Linked DNA regions of Homo sapiens: all the other regions are linked to region 1. The links are contacts of gene promoters, found by promoter capture Hi-C in human tissues and cell types (Jung and others, 2019). All regions are on one chromosome and are shown on one strand. Each heading gives the region's core, a stretch centred on a gene start or on the middle of the fragment in contact. The rest is flanking DNA. Distances are from core to core; before and after follow the strand shown.

Region 1 (4,739 bases), core at 1,939-4,438:
AGCTCCCACCCCTCTGCACCACCCGTCCAGCATTCCTCTGACTTTCAGGGATAGCAGGGGCCAGGCACAGGGAGTGGGCAGCGGAGTCCCTCTCAGGAGGAGCCTCCTTCAGGGAGGTGGAGGTGGAAGAGGCCAAGCCCTTGGCCAGCACAGCTCTCAGAGGCAGGAGCTTGGAGGTGCCACAAAGCGGGCTGTGTTCTCGCGCTAGCCCAGCCTAAGGGCACCTTTCCATGTTTTGTTTTGTTTTGTTTTTTGTTTTTTTTTTTTTTTTAAACACGGACTCTCGCCCTCTCACCCAGGCTGGAGTGCAATGGTGCGATCTCGGCTCACCGCAACCTCTGCCTCCCAGGTTCAAATGATTCTCCTGCCTCAGCCTCCAGAGTAGCTGAGATTACAGGTGCCCACCACCATGCCCAGCTATTTTTTGTACTTTTAGTAGAGACAGGATTTCACCATGTTGGCCAGGCTGGTCTCGAACTCCTGAACTTGTGATCCATCCGCCTCGGCTCCCCAAAGTGCTGGGATTACAGGCTTGAGCCATGGCACCCGACCTGTCTTTCCATGTTTTGCTGGCAGTTCAGGGGCCTTCTTTCTAACTCCAGGCTGACAGGGTTTGGCGCCCAGAAGGAGAGTCACTTGGGCCAGGACTCCAGAAGCACCAGCTGAGGTTGAGGGGACTTGGTGGAAGGGATAGTTAGCAGCCTGGCCAGAGGGGCGCCAGGACTCACCCAAATGCACACTGGAGGGGATGTTCAGATGGCACGAGAACGGGGATCACACATGGTCGTTCACACACGTGCACTTGAAGATGCATGCACACACATACACCCAGACACACACACCCGCCCAGCCTCTCCTGCACGCAGGGGGCATGCACACACGAGGACGCTCCTCACCTGCATGCCTGACCTGGGGAAGAAGCCCACCTGGTGGGAGGCACCCTCCTCCCACCCTCCATCTGCCATGGCCCAAGTGCTGGCCCCGAGCCCGTGCCCAGGGAGACTCAACACAGGCCCTTTGTCCCTTGGGATCAGGGCTCCCAAGAGAGGGATTTACTGAGCATTTATTTCCTGCCCCGGGCACGCCCCAGTCCTCATTCTGCCAGGAGAAGGGAACAATGAGGCCTTCTCCTGCCCGCAGAGGTGGCTCCGGGCCGGCTGGCCCTTATGTGTCAGGAGTCGGGTTAGGACCACAAGTCCCTGTCCTCCCTGCCCTCCAGGTGTGGGGCTTGGGAAGACCCCTCTGTGACTCTGCAGCCTGAGGCACAGCAGACAAGAGAGTCTCCATCTGCAGCCCATGCAGCAGCCAGGGCCTCCCTGCAGCCCCCGGGCCAGGCTTGGCCTCTGCGGGAAGCCCCCAGCCTCACTGGAGGCAAGAACCTGAGTCCCTGGCTCAGATCTCCGGGTAGGACTGGCCTGACTGAGACCCTGGGCAAAACCAGGAGCTGACACCTCCTAGGGGCCTCAGCGGATCCCTGGGACTCAGGAACCAGAGGGAACGTCCTGCTGGCTGGGAGAGGGGCAGGATCAGAAGCCCAGGGACCTTTGCCCCAACCCAGCAGGCCAAGGCCAGGCTGTGCATGTGACTTGTCCTTGAGCAGCTGCTGCTGGGGAAGGAGGCCCTGAGGGAAGGCACCGCAGCCTTGTGCTCCTGAAACCCGAAGCTCCCACACACCCGCTGCGCCCTCATTGAGTTCCCGTTGGTACCATGCTCTGTGCTAAGCATTTTATCTGTACTTTCCCCAAAGAAACTTAATACTTTTATTGGAAAACCAGAACGCCTAACCACACATTTTGCCTAATCTTTCATGTAATTAACCTTCCACTAGTGCAAGTGTTGAAAGTAGAATACGCTATTCCCAAGTTTCAAGTTGAGGGAGGCGGGATTCCCAGGTTCTGGTTGTACATTCCCATTTTCACTGATCTGTTCAGTGGTCAATGGATTCTTGGGTTGCTTTCATGTCAGCTACTGTGAATAATCCTGCTATGAACATGGGTATACAAATATCTCTTGAAGGCTGGGTGGGGTGGCTCACACCTTCACCCTGGCACTTTGGGAGGCCGCAGAGGGCAGATCACCTGAGGTCAGAAGTTCAAGACCAGCCTGGCCAACATGGCGAAACCCCATCTCTACTAAAAATACAAAAATTAGCTAAGCATGGTGGCAGGTGCCTCTAATCCCAGCTACTCTGGAGGCTGAGACAGGAGAATCACTTGAACCCAGGAGGCAGATGTTGCAGTGAGCCAAGATCGCACCACTGCACTCCAGCCTGAGCGATGGAGCAAGACTCCATCTCAAAAACAAACAAAACTAAATCCCCCCAAAAAACCAAAAACAAATATCTCTTGAAGACCTTCCTTTCAGTTCTTTTGGGTGTATGCTCAGAAGTGGAATTGCAGCTGGGCGCGGTGGCTCATGCCTGTAATCCCAGCACTTTGAGAGGCCGAGGTGGGCGGATTACCTGAGGTCAGGAGTTGGAGACCAGCCTGGTTAACATGGCGAAACCCCGTCTGTACTAAAAATACAAAAATGAGCCAGGTGTGCTGGCGCGCGCCTGTAACCCCAGCTACTTGGGAGGCTGAGGCAGGAGAATCGCTTGAACCCAGGAGGTGGAGGTTGCAGTGAGCTGGGATCACGCCAATGCACTCCAGCCTGGGCGACAAGAGCGAAACTCCATCTCAAAAAAAAAAAAAATTGTTCCAGAGAAGTGAAGAGAGCCCAGCGGGAGCCCGCAGTGGGGACAGCCTGGGCAGAGACTTGGGGAGATCCCCATTCTGGGTGGAACGGGCCGAGGACCACTGTTTTCCCAAGAAGGTCCCATGAAGGAGCAGCCATGCCTCTAGGCCCCACCCGGCCTTCAGGGGGTCCCCAGGCTTTAAGGGGACTCCTGGCTCAGGGCCAGGCCCTTGGTGCTGGAGGAGGTTGTAGGTGGAGGACGGGGTCACCAAGAGGGCAGCCGGGACCCCTGGGCTGCAGACAAGAAAGGGACTGTGGGGTCCACCGGGTCTGGGCCACATCAAGAAGTGTGGTTGAAGACCCGCCCCTAGGGGCTGAAAGCCAGGGCGCTGCCAGGCATGAGAGGCCCCAAACAGCCCTTGGGCCCAGGAGGGTGAAGCTGGGAGTAGAGGGCAGAGCTCCCACCCCGCCCCGCCCCCAGGGGGCGCCCCGGGCCCGGCGCGAGAGGAGGCAGAGGGGGCGTCAGGCCGCGGGAGAGGAGGCCATGGGCGCGCGCGGGGCGCTGCTGCTGGCGCTGCTGCTGGCTCGGGCTGGACTCAGGAAGCCGGGTGAGCTCGGGGCGCTGCTGGCGGGATGGGGAGGCGGGGGAGCGGTGGGGAGGACGGGAGGTGGAGGCCGCGGGGAGTCACTTCTTGTCTCCCGCAGAGTCGCAGGAGGCGGCGCCGTTATCAGGTAGGGCGCCCAGGACGCGCGATTCCTGCCAGGGCCGTTGGGCCGAGGTGGACGGGGGGCGGTGAGGGGGTAGAGGGGGGCCTTTACTGCTCTCTCGCCCCCGCCCCCGGGATCGAGAACTCTGTTGGCGTGGAAAGTAACTAACGGACGCTGGAGGGGGATGGGCGGGCCCTGCAGAGCACGTGGGAGGATCTCCAGTGTCACCTACTTCCTGCTGCACACACGCGAGGGGACCCTGGGTGGGCAAAAACGTGCTTTCCCGGACGGGGTTGAAGGGGAGAAAGGGAGAGGTCGGGCTTGGGGGGCTGCCTCCCGCGGCTCAGCAGTTCCTCTGACCATCCGAGGACCATGCGGCCGACGGGTCATCACGTCGCGCATCGTGGGTGGAGAGGACGCCGAACTCGGGCGTTGGCCGTGGCAGGGGAGCCTGCGCCTGTGGGATTCCCACGTATGCGGAGTGAGCCTGCTCAGCCACCGCTGGGCACTCACGGCGGCGCACTGCTTTGAAACGTGAGTGGGGGTGCGAACGGAGGGGTGCGGGGACGGGCAGGAACAGGGCTGGAGGGAGTGCCACCGAACTTTACCTCTGGTCTGATGCCAGACTTGGGCGTGAAAGTTGTGCGTGGATGCGGCCTGGTGTTCTCCTGAGCCCCAGGCTGTGCTGCAGCCGGTTACACCCACTCCAGTTCCCTTTGGGTCTCCTGGAGGGAACCCTGTTCAGGTTATTCCAGAATGTTCTTCCAGAACATTTCCACACACTTTTGGGTATTCTCTCCCTTTTTCTTTCAACCCAAAGTTCACCACTGACCATCCCACCCTCATCCCCCCTCCTGGTGGACGGTGCGGTACAGTGTGGGGCACTGAGCCAAGGCCAGCACCCCCGGGCCGCTGTGTGGACTCCATCCTGCCAATCCCACATTGGCGTGGTGCATCTCCCCATTCCTCCTTGGGCTGCATGGGGGTGCCCCTGGAGGCCTTGGCTCAATGCAAGGCTCCTTGGGACAGCTCTGGGAGGTGACAAGACCCCACCCTTCTGCTGCAGGAGCAGGTCCTAGGACTTTGGTTGTGGTCTGTCTGGGCTCCTTCATTTCTGCAGGGGACCCTGGGTGTTAGCAAGTAGCAGCAACACCACAGTTTCCCCTCCTGCACTGGACCCCAGTTGTGCTCAGGTAGCCAGCCCTCCATCCAGGGCCCCTGACTGCTCTCTTCTCTTCTGCCAGCTATAGTGACCTTAGTGATCCCTCCGGGTGGATGGTCCAGTTTGGCCAGCTGACTTCCATGCCATCCTTCTGGAGCCTGCAGGCCTACTACACCCGTTACTTCGTATCGAA
Region 2 (4,393 bases), core at 1,824-4,323, 130 kb before region 1:
TGACGGTTTCTGATTTTTCCACTATTTAAATAATGCTGTGATGAATATCTTTAAAATCTTCTGATTTCTTACTTTTTTTCCCCTTAGATGCCTGGAAGTGGTATTTTGAGGTGAAAGAGTTTGTTCATTTTGAAGATATTTCTGTCTCTCTCTCGACCTGATGTGTAGACGCTCAGTTCCAGTAGCAGAACCACCTTAGTTGTGTCTTACAGATTCTGAACAAATCGGTTTCTGATAAGCCGTGTGTTCCAAAGAATGTCTGAATAAGACCGCTCTTTATTTAAATGCTAAGAGGATGTCACTACTGCAATCCATTTGTGGCCGATTTTTTCCAAGAGCCAATTTCCTTGTTTTGGTTGCAAGAACCTGGCTCTGCCTGCATGTCAGCTCTCTGCCCTCCCTGCTGCCGTGGCTTTCAAGCGCTTGGCGATATTTTCAGAATCTTGTACTTCATGTCCACAATGGTATTGAATTTGCAACTGCGCAGTCAGCAGAGATAACAAGTGTTGAACTGACCTTGCCACATGCTTAGTGAGTGATCTGTAATTAAGTTTATAGACTCAGAAAGTACATTAGGCCATTTGGAGTCAGTAGCAGAGCAAAGCCTCTACTTGAAAAAAACCACGTAGCTGATTGGGTTTTACAAGAGTGCATTTGTCTCCCCCTTCCACCCCCCCACCTTCAGGTCTTAGTGGTTCACAAGAGCCCAGCAGCCAGGCTGGCTTTTTCATTGTAGGGCGTGGTTGTCCCAGCTGGTGTAGATTTCAGGCCGCCTCCCCCCATCTCCCTGCCCACAGTGTTGCAGATTGCCTGGCTGGCAGCAAGTCCAGACCACCCAAATTTGGTTGGATTCTTCATTTCTCCACTGTAGTTGGGGTCCATTGATTGTGCAGGGGAACGTGCAGGAGGTTTTTCTAGGCACTGCGTTCAGTGCTGCTTCACTCTACCAGAGATTATGGCCAAATTGCACGGAATTTGGTTTCTTGCCCTCTGAAGCCTGAGGGCCCCCCCTTGCCTGGCTGGTTGACAGACCCGGGGTGCTCACTGCTGAGACTTCAGAGATCGCAGCTGCTGTGAGAATACGGTGAAGGTACTATGTTCTGGAAGATGTTGTCATACACTTTTCCCCAGTTATTTTCAAACTTGACATGAGCCTATGTTGACTCACTGGGTGGGGTCCCTTCTTACGCAGCACACGTGGCAAGTGCCTGAATCGGGGCTGGAGGCACTTCAGAGCCTCTGAGGGGCCACCACTTCTGGCCCAAAATTGCAGGGTTGTAGATGAGGCTGCCTGTGGAGAACTGGTGTGAGGAGGAAGCTGTTTCCAACAAAGAGCACTTTCATCTGTTGAGATGGCTGTGGTGAGCAACTGAACGAGCCTACGTGTGTACCTGAATTTTCCCCATAACTCATTTCTTCCATATGAAGAAACACCAAACTATGTACAGAGAACTTTTTACAAAAGGCAGACCTTTTTTAAGCTGTGTAACCCACATAGCCTAACCGTCTGGCAGAATGACTACGAATAGGGGTCATTGTGCTGGTAAAAGCCTCTATTACGACTGTTAAGTTGGATGTTGGCAAAATTAAATTGTTACAGTATTTAGAGCTGCTGTAGCTGTTCCTTCACAACATGAAATAGGATAAATGACTAGTACGTCTTTCAGGTGGGTGGCAGTCAGAACATGCGTAATATTCTCTACCTGGTCTGTAGCTGTAACTGTGATGTACAGACAAAGCAAAAATTAAAAGAACTCATGAAAACAAATAATACAATGGTATTAGGATATACACTTTTGTGTTTTTAATCTTATAGAAGGTTATTTGCTGGCTATTGTTGGCCTCTAGTTCAGCCTGTTATTTAAATTCTTTTTTTTTCTTGAGACGGAGTCTCACTCTGTCGCCCAGGCTAGAGTGCAGTGGCCTGATCTCGGCTAACTGCAACCTCCGCCTCCTGGGTTTAAGCAATTCTCTGCCTCAGCCTCCGAGTAGCTGGGATTACGAGCGCCCACAACCACATCTGGCTAATTTTTTGTATTTTTGGTAGAGACGGAGATTCACCATCTTGGCCAGGCTGATGTTGAACTCCTGACCTCGTGATCCACCCACCTTGGCCTCCCAAAGTGTTGGGATTACAGACATGAGCCACCGCGCCCGGCCTAAATTCTAATATATGAATTATTTGTATTGAATTCATGTTCGGGGCCACGTTGTTATATGTATTGATATACAGCCTTGAATGTGAATAATTACTATATATTTTACAACTTTTTTCTGGCTTTATTACAAAAACTTTCTTTTTTTTTTTTTGAGACAGACTCTCGCCCTATCACCAGGCTGGAGTGCAGTGGCGAGATCTCAGCTCACTGCAACCTCTGCCTCCCGGGTTCACGCCATTCTCCTGCCGCAGCCTCCCGAGTAGCTTGGATTACCGGCGCCCACCACCGCGCCAGGCTAATTTTTGTATTTTCAGTGGAGACCGGGCCTCACCATGTTGGCCAGCGTGGTCTCGATCTCCTGACCGCCTGATCCTCCCGCCTCGGCCTCCCAAAGTGCTGGGATTACAGGCGTGAGCCACCAGGCCCCGCCCTTATTATATAAATTTTCTATTGGGTCAATGATTTAATCATATAATTTAATGAATCTGTTCTTTTTTTCCCCCCAAATATTTGTGCTTTAGGTGTAGTTACCAGATGATGAATTTTCCTCCTATGCTCCGTAGTCTTGTAATAAAAAGCATGTACAGTGTAGACGTTTGCTGGCATGGCTCTTCCTTTGACCAGTTCATGAACTGGAGTCAGGGTGGGGGTGAAGGCTAGGGTCGAGGTCTGGGTCAGGCGCTCGTGCACCGCTCGTGGGAGGTCGAGGCTGATGTCCGCTGCTCCCCATCAGCGTTAGTGCCCAGATCACCCCGTGCTCCGCTCCCGCCGGAAGCGGGCCCAGCCTCCTGCTTTTCGGGACCGGAACTTCCGCCTACCGCGTGACGCCGGGGCGGGCGCTCTACCAGGGCGGACCTGTGGGCGGGACAGAACTCAGAGGACGCTATTAAAAGCCGGACGCTTCCGGTGGAAGGGAGCTGTTGCGGGGCTTGCTGGGATCATGGCGGAGAATCACTGCGAGCTCCTGTCGCCGGCCCGGGGCGGCATCGGGGCGGGGCTGGGGGGCGGCCTGTGCCGCCGCTGCAGCGCTGGGCTCGGCGCCCTGGCCCAGCGCCCTGGCAGCGTGTCCAAGTGGGTCCGACTCAACGTCGGCGGCACCTACTTCCTCACCACTCGGCAGACCCTGTGCCGGGACCCGAAATCCTTCCTGTACCGCTTATGCCAGGCCGATCCCGACCTGGACTCAGACAAGGTGAGGGCCTCACGGGCCAGCCCGGAGGGTCCTGGCCTTCCCGGCCTGCGGCTCCTGCACACGCCCTGCTTCGTGCGGAGGAGACTTCAGCGGGAGCGGGCGACTCTCCTCGGGCTTCGAGCCCCGCGCTCCCTTGTCGCCAGCTCCTCCCCAGCTTGCCCCGATCCCCTACCCTGGGAGGGGAGGGTGAGGATGGCGCCCTGGCGTCCACTGCCTTTGAGGATCCTGAGTCGATTCACCTTGGGGGTGTCTCTTCCTCGCCCTCTTTGCTCTTTGGTGGAGGAGGCTTCCTAGACCCCGGACTTTGCTGTGATTCTACTTTCTTTTTCTCACTAGGTTCTTTTGCCCAGGGTGTGTGAACGCCTTCTCTTCTCTGTCCCAGGGTACTTGCTGGCTCTGGAAACAGAACCCTTGGCGTTGTTTCACATTCTGGACGTTTGAATTAACGCTGACGTGGGGGTTGATATGGGCGGCCCTTTTTTTCCCTGGTGACTTGCATTTAGAGAGTTGGCGCTCCATCCTTTCCATCCACAGCACGCAGCACCCACTCAGCACCTCTTAGAAGATGCGTCCGTAGTATATAGTATGATTTTTCGAAGGGGATTTTGCTCATATTAAGGGTTGCTTTAGGGATGTCCAGGAAGGGTCAGGTAAGGAATCTTTCAATCTGCTTTCTAATTGGCTTAGTTTTCCCACTGTCTTCGCAAAAGGACAGGAATTTCCAGGTTAGTTTGCAGCTTGTCTTTCATCAAGCGAAATGCTCATGCTGTTGGGTAGATGGTAATAGAAACCTTTTGCTACCTTTATTTATCAAGAGTTGTGGAGCCGAGGAACCGTGTCTTGGGAGTTGTGCAGGATTGAAACTCACAAAAAAGCCTGTTTGAAGAAGTTGTTACCTATATTTATTCAAGGCAGTTCACAAGCCTTATACTAACTTTGCGGGGTCTTTCAGTTGAGCTTACATGACTGCGCTTGGCTTTGTGCCTTGGCAGCCAACATTTGCCATGCAGGAGGCTTCCCAGAAAGGTTCGGATCCCTCTTC
Region 3 (4,475 bases), core at 641-3,140, 150 kb before region 1:
TATAAGCATAAGGCGTTATGCAATAATCAGAAGTATTCCAATCACACTGTAATTGCATACGGTGTTGCAAGTTCATAACTCTATCTCCCAGCCAGGTTACACTTTGGCGGAGATCATTAATCTGATTAGCTAATTTTTGATCAATTTGCGCCTGAGAATTCCAAAGTCTGGAGGAATTTTTCTGGCATGCTTCAACATAGTGAGCAGTTTGAACAGAACTGCGGATGGCAACTCCAGCAGTTGCTGCTGTTGCAGTAACCGCAAGTAGTCCTGCAAGGACTGCAATAAGAGTAAAAATAAATCTCTTTGTTCTTTTGAGGATGTCTTTAAGAACTTCATTGACTATGTGAATAGAGGGGGAAGACTCCCATGGACGATGTAGAGAAACTGGTATCCATACCCCCTCCCTAGCCCTTACCAAGAGAATACTTGTAGTGGGATTAAAAGTTGCATCAATGCAAGTGAACAGCTTACAGTTATGACATTCTATAGTTTGTGCATCAGGCATCATAATTATATTTCCAACCAACAGCATGTAAGGGGGTTTGACACAGCTCCTAATGGGTATCACCCATTCAGAAATAAGGGTGATGTTGAATGTGGGTGTTTTGGTTTTAGTACGAAGGAGCTGATAGGTAGTGTTCCATATCTTTATTCCCGACAAAGCTGCAGCTAATTTCCATAGTTCAGGATGTTCTGGGGTAAAAAAGGGATGAATAATTTTTGGTCTAGGAGGAGCAATACCTGTGTCCATCCATTTAAATGGGTAAGGAGACACCCGTTGTCTCATCGTGTAAGACTGCCACCCATGCTCTATATAATCTAAGGAATAAATAAACTCCGAGCATAAGGTATTTTTGCTGGAGCAATCTTGCCAATAATGTCCTTTTGGAGCCCAATCAATAACAATACCCATGGCTAGAGTTTGGAGTACAACAGCCTTGGGAGCATTACAATTATCCCATAAAATTGAAGTCACTATAAAAGGCCCATTTGTAGGTTTCTTTGGACAGTCCGGCAGTCCTTTTGTTTTATTAGTTTTGGTAGTGAGAGGAACTCTCCATGCCTCATGTGGGGTACGTTTGACAGTGAGAAGTTGAAAAGAGTTAGTACTGAACACATTATATACTTGATAAGAATCATTTGTAAAGGACGGTACAGTCCACATCCAATTCTGTTAAGAATAAGCTAAACAACCAGGCGACTTCCCAATACATAATGGTGGATATTTATAGCCAATTGACAGATTAAAGTGCATACCTTCTTCTTCCGGTTGAGCTGGAAACCGATCATCATTAGGGATCGGCATGAATGCACTATTATTAGTGTAAACTTCTACTGGAGAGTCCCTCCAGGAGACAGACCGAATTAGAAGGGGAAAAGGAACATATGCCCAATAAGTATAATTTTGAGTTGCCCCGACCGGTGGTATACTTACCGCTGCACTGACTACCATAAAGGCAGCCAGAATTATATTACCAGTCATTTTTGGGATTCCTTTTTCTGTTAAGAATTTTTCTGTTTGATGAGATAAAATCTGTATTCGACCCCAAGTAGGTGGGGTTGAACGAGAGGTGTTGTAGGTCACACGGCGAGATTTTGTCTCAATGTGGATGTCATGAAGTGTATGTATCAGGCGGTGAAAGTTGCTCTTTTGTTTCCGATGGGTCTTTGCCTTTTCTTTCTGGGAGCGTTTCATCTTTGGAGTTATGGTGCAATTTTAATTGTCGGGAGGGGACCCACACAGGCTGTAGTTCTTTTCCTGGGGAAACACAAACAAAACCCCTACCCCAAGTTATGACCGTGCCTAATTCCCATGTGTTAGTTTTTACGTCCTTCCACCATACCCGCATTCCTTTTTGTGGATCAAATTTATTTCCAGTGAAATGTTGTTCTGCGGCTGTGAAAGGTTGATTTCTTGTTAAGTTTAAGAAATTTAGTGTGAAAAGAGCCAGATTTAATTGGGCATGAGGAGTAATAGCATCTCCCTTTGATTTAGTATCCTGTTTACGAAGTTGATCTTTGAGTGTTTTATTGGCTCGTTCAACCAAGGCCTGTTCTCCAGAGTTATAGGGAATGCCCGTTGTGTGAGTAATTGCCCATGTCTGAGGAAACTTTTTAAAAGCAGCACTAGTGTAGGCGGGGCCGTTATCAGTTTTTAGTTTCTCAGAACAGCCCATAACCGAGAAACAGGAAGGCACATGTCGTTTACCATGAGCTGTACTTTCGCCCGTTTCACAAGTGGCCCAAATAAAATGAGAAAAGGTATCAATAGTTACATGTATAAAAGAAAGCTTGCCAAAAGGAGGATAATGAGTCACATCCATTTGCCAAAGAGCATTCTGTGAAAGTCCTCTAGGGTTAACTCCTGAAGACAGTGGTGGTAAAATTAACACTTGACAAGTAGGACAGTGACGCACAGTAGTTTTAGCTTGCTTCCATGTAAGGGGGAACTTGTTTCGGAGTCCCGCAGCATTGACGTGAGTTAAAGCATGAAAATTTTCTGCATCTGTAAAAACGGGAGTAACTAATGTATCAGCTCTGGCATTTGCTGCCGAGAGGGGTCCGGGGAGGGGTGTGTGGGCCCGAATGTGAGTACTGTAGAAAGGAGAAGACCTTGCTCTGAGCACAGACTGAAACTTTTGAAAAAGAAGGAATAGGTTATCATCAGGCAGAAATTTGATTAAGGCAGTTTCAATGTTGCGAGCAACATGTACGACATACGCTGAGTCAGAGAAAATGTTAACTGGCTCAGGAAAATCTTCAAGGACAGCCATAACAGCAGGCAGTTCAGCTCGTTGTGCTGAAATAGCCCCTGTGTTAAGAACACGTTCTCTGGGTCCTGTATATGCTGCTCGGCCATTAGAGGAAGCATCAGTGAAAACAGTGACAGCTTCAGGTAATGGGGTGTTTCTAGTAATGTTACGTAAAATCCAAGACGTGAGTTTAAGGAACTGAAATAATTTTACATGAGGATAGTGATTATCAATTATACCTGGGAAACGTGCCAAATGCACTTGCCAAGCAATGCAAGTAGCAAAGCCTGTTGAACTTGTAATCGGGTAAGGGGAACAACGATTTTTTGAGGCTCTGTTCCTGAAAGACGAAGGAGACGAGAACGAGCCTGACCAATTAAGGTAGAAATTTGATCTAGATAGTTAGTGTACGTAAAGAGCTGTGTGGGAGAAAACACAATTCAATTAAATTATGTCCCTGAATAATGAGTCCTGTTGGTGAATGTTCAGTGGGAAAAATTAGTACTTCAAAAGGTAAATGTGGATTTACTCTGGTAACCTGAGACTGTTGAATGCATTTTTTTATAAGTCGTAATTTAGAATCTGCCTCAGGAGTCAAAGACCTTTTACTGCGTAAATCAGGATTGCCCCGTAATATTGCAAAAAGATTAGACACAGCATAAGTAGGAATGCGTAGGGAGGGACGAATCCAATTAATATCTCCAAATAATTTTTGGAAATCATTTAGAGTTTTTAAAGAGTCTCGTCTGAGTTGAACTTTTTGAGGCTTAATGACCTTATCCTCTAGCTGCATCTCTAAATAGTGATAAGGAGATGAAGTGTGAATTTTTTCTGGGGCGATAACCAAGCCAGCTGCTGTGACCACTTGCTGTAATGCAGAAAAACAAGATATTAATACAGAGCGTGAAGGTGCTGCACAAAGAATATCATCTGTGTAATGAATAATATAACATTGGGGAAATTTATCTCTAACTGGCTTTAATATGCATCCCACATAATATTGACAAATAGTGGGGCTATTGAGCAGACCTTGAGGTAGGACTTTCCAATGGTAACGTGCTGCAGGAGCAACGTTGTTAAGGGCTGGAACAGTGAAAGCAAATTTTTCAAAGTCCTGAGGGGCCAGAGGAATGGTAAAAAAGCAATCTTTAAGGTCAATGATGATAAGTGGCCAATACTCAGTAATCATACTGGGGGAGGGCAAACTGGGTTGTAATGTCCCCATAGGCTGAAGGACAGCATTTACTGCCCTAAGATCAGTAAGCATTCTCCACTTACCAGATTTCTTTTGAATAACAAAAACAGGTGAATTCCAAGGAGAAAAAGAAGGTTCAATGTGTCCCAATTTTAACTGTTCAAGAACCAAAATATGAAGTGCCTCCAGCTTATTTTTTGGGAGCAGCCACTCATCTACCTAGACAGGTTTTTAAGTTCTCCAGGTCAAAGGGATGGGTTCTGGAGGCTTGATAGTGACCACTTCTAAAAAGAATAACCAAGTCCTGTAGAGTCTGCTTTAGGAGTAGGTATGATATGCTCAGTGATGCCTTGTGCTGATTTTTCTAAACCCAGACCTTGAACAAATCCCATTTTGGTCATCATATCTTTACTCTGCTGGCTGTAACTGCCTTTAGGAAAAGTAATCTGAGCCCCCCATTGATATAAAAGATCTCTTCCCCACAAATTAACAGGAATGGGTGTAATGAGGGGGCGAATAGTTCC

The links. Contacts are between HindIII fragments. The study calls those that stand out against the background at their distance.
Region 2: the fragment with the promoter of KCTD5 here is called in contact with the fragment with the promoter of PRSS21 in region 1 in 3 of the 25 tissues and cell types used here (liver, mesenchymal stem cells and spleen).
Region 3: a contact is called between a fragment that was not itself captured here and the fragment with the promoter of PRSS21 in region 1, in 2 of the 25 tissues and cell types used here (lymphoblastoid cells and spleen).

Annotation. Positions count from the first base shown.
Region 1 is chr16:2,814,049-2,818,787 of GRCh38, forward strand. PRSS21 (serine protease 21) reads left to right here and starts at 3,189. Exons shown (of 6, transcript NM_006799.4): 1 at 3,189-3,284; 2 at 3,382-3,408; 3 at 3,753-3,918; 4 at 4,629-4,739. The coding sequence starts at 3,221. RefSeq lists an enhancer at 891-1,391 and silencers at 3,057-3,336, 3,447-3,506. The HindIII fragment of the contact is 10,567 bases long and covers 1,541-4,739 here.
Region 2 is chr16:2,679,450-2,683,842 of GRCh38, forward strand. KCTD5 (potassium channel tetramerization domain containing 5) reads left to right here and starts at 3,074. Exons shown (of 6, transcript NM_018992.4): 1 at 3,074-3,351. The coding sequence starts at 3,100. RefSeq lists a silencer at 3,157-3,336 and enhancers at 3,432-4,042, 3,587-3,636, 3,707-3,756. The HindIII fragment of the contact is 14,940 bases long and covers 1-4,393 here.
Region 3 is chr16:2,661,646-2,666,120 of GRCh38, forward strand. It overlaps ERVK13-1 (endogenous retrovirus group K13 member 1), which reads right to left. Exons shown (of 3, transcript NR_040023.1): 3 at 1-1,762. Among named protein-coding and RNA genes, the nearest start is that of ERVK13-1, 9.6 kb to the right of the region's middle. The HindIII fragment of the contact is 6,273 bases long and covers 1-4,475 here.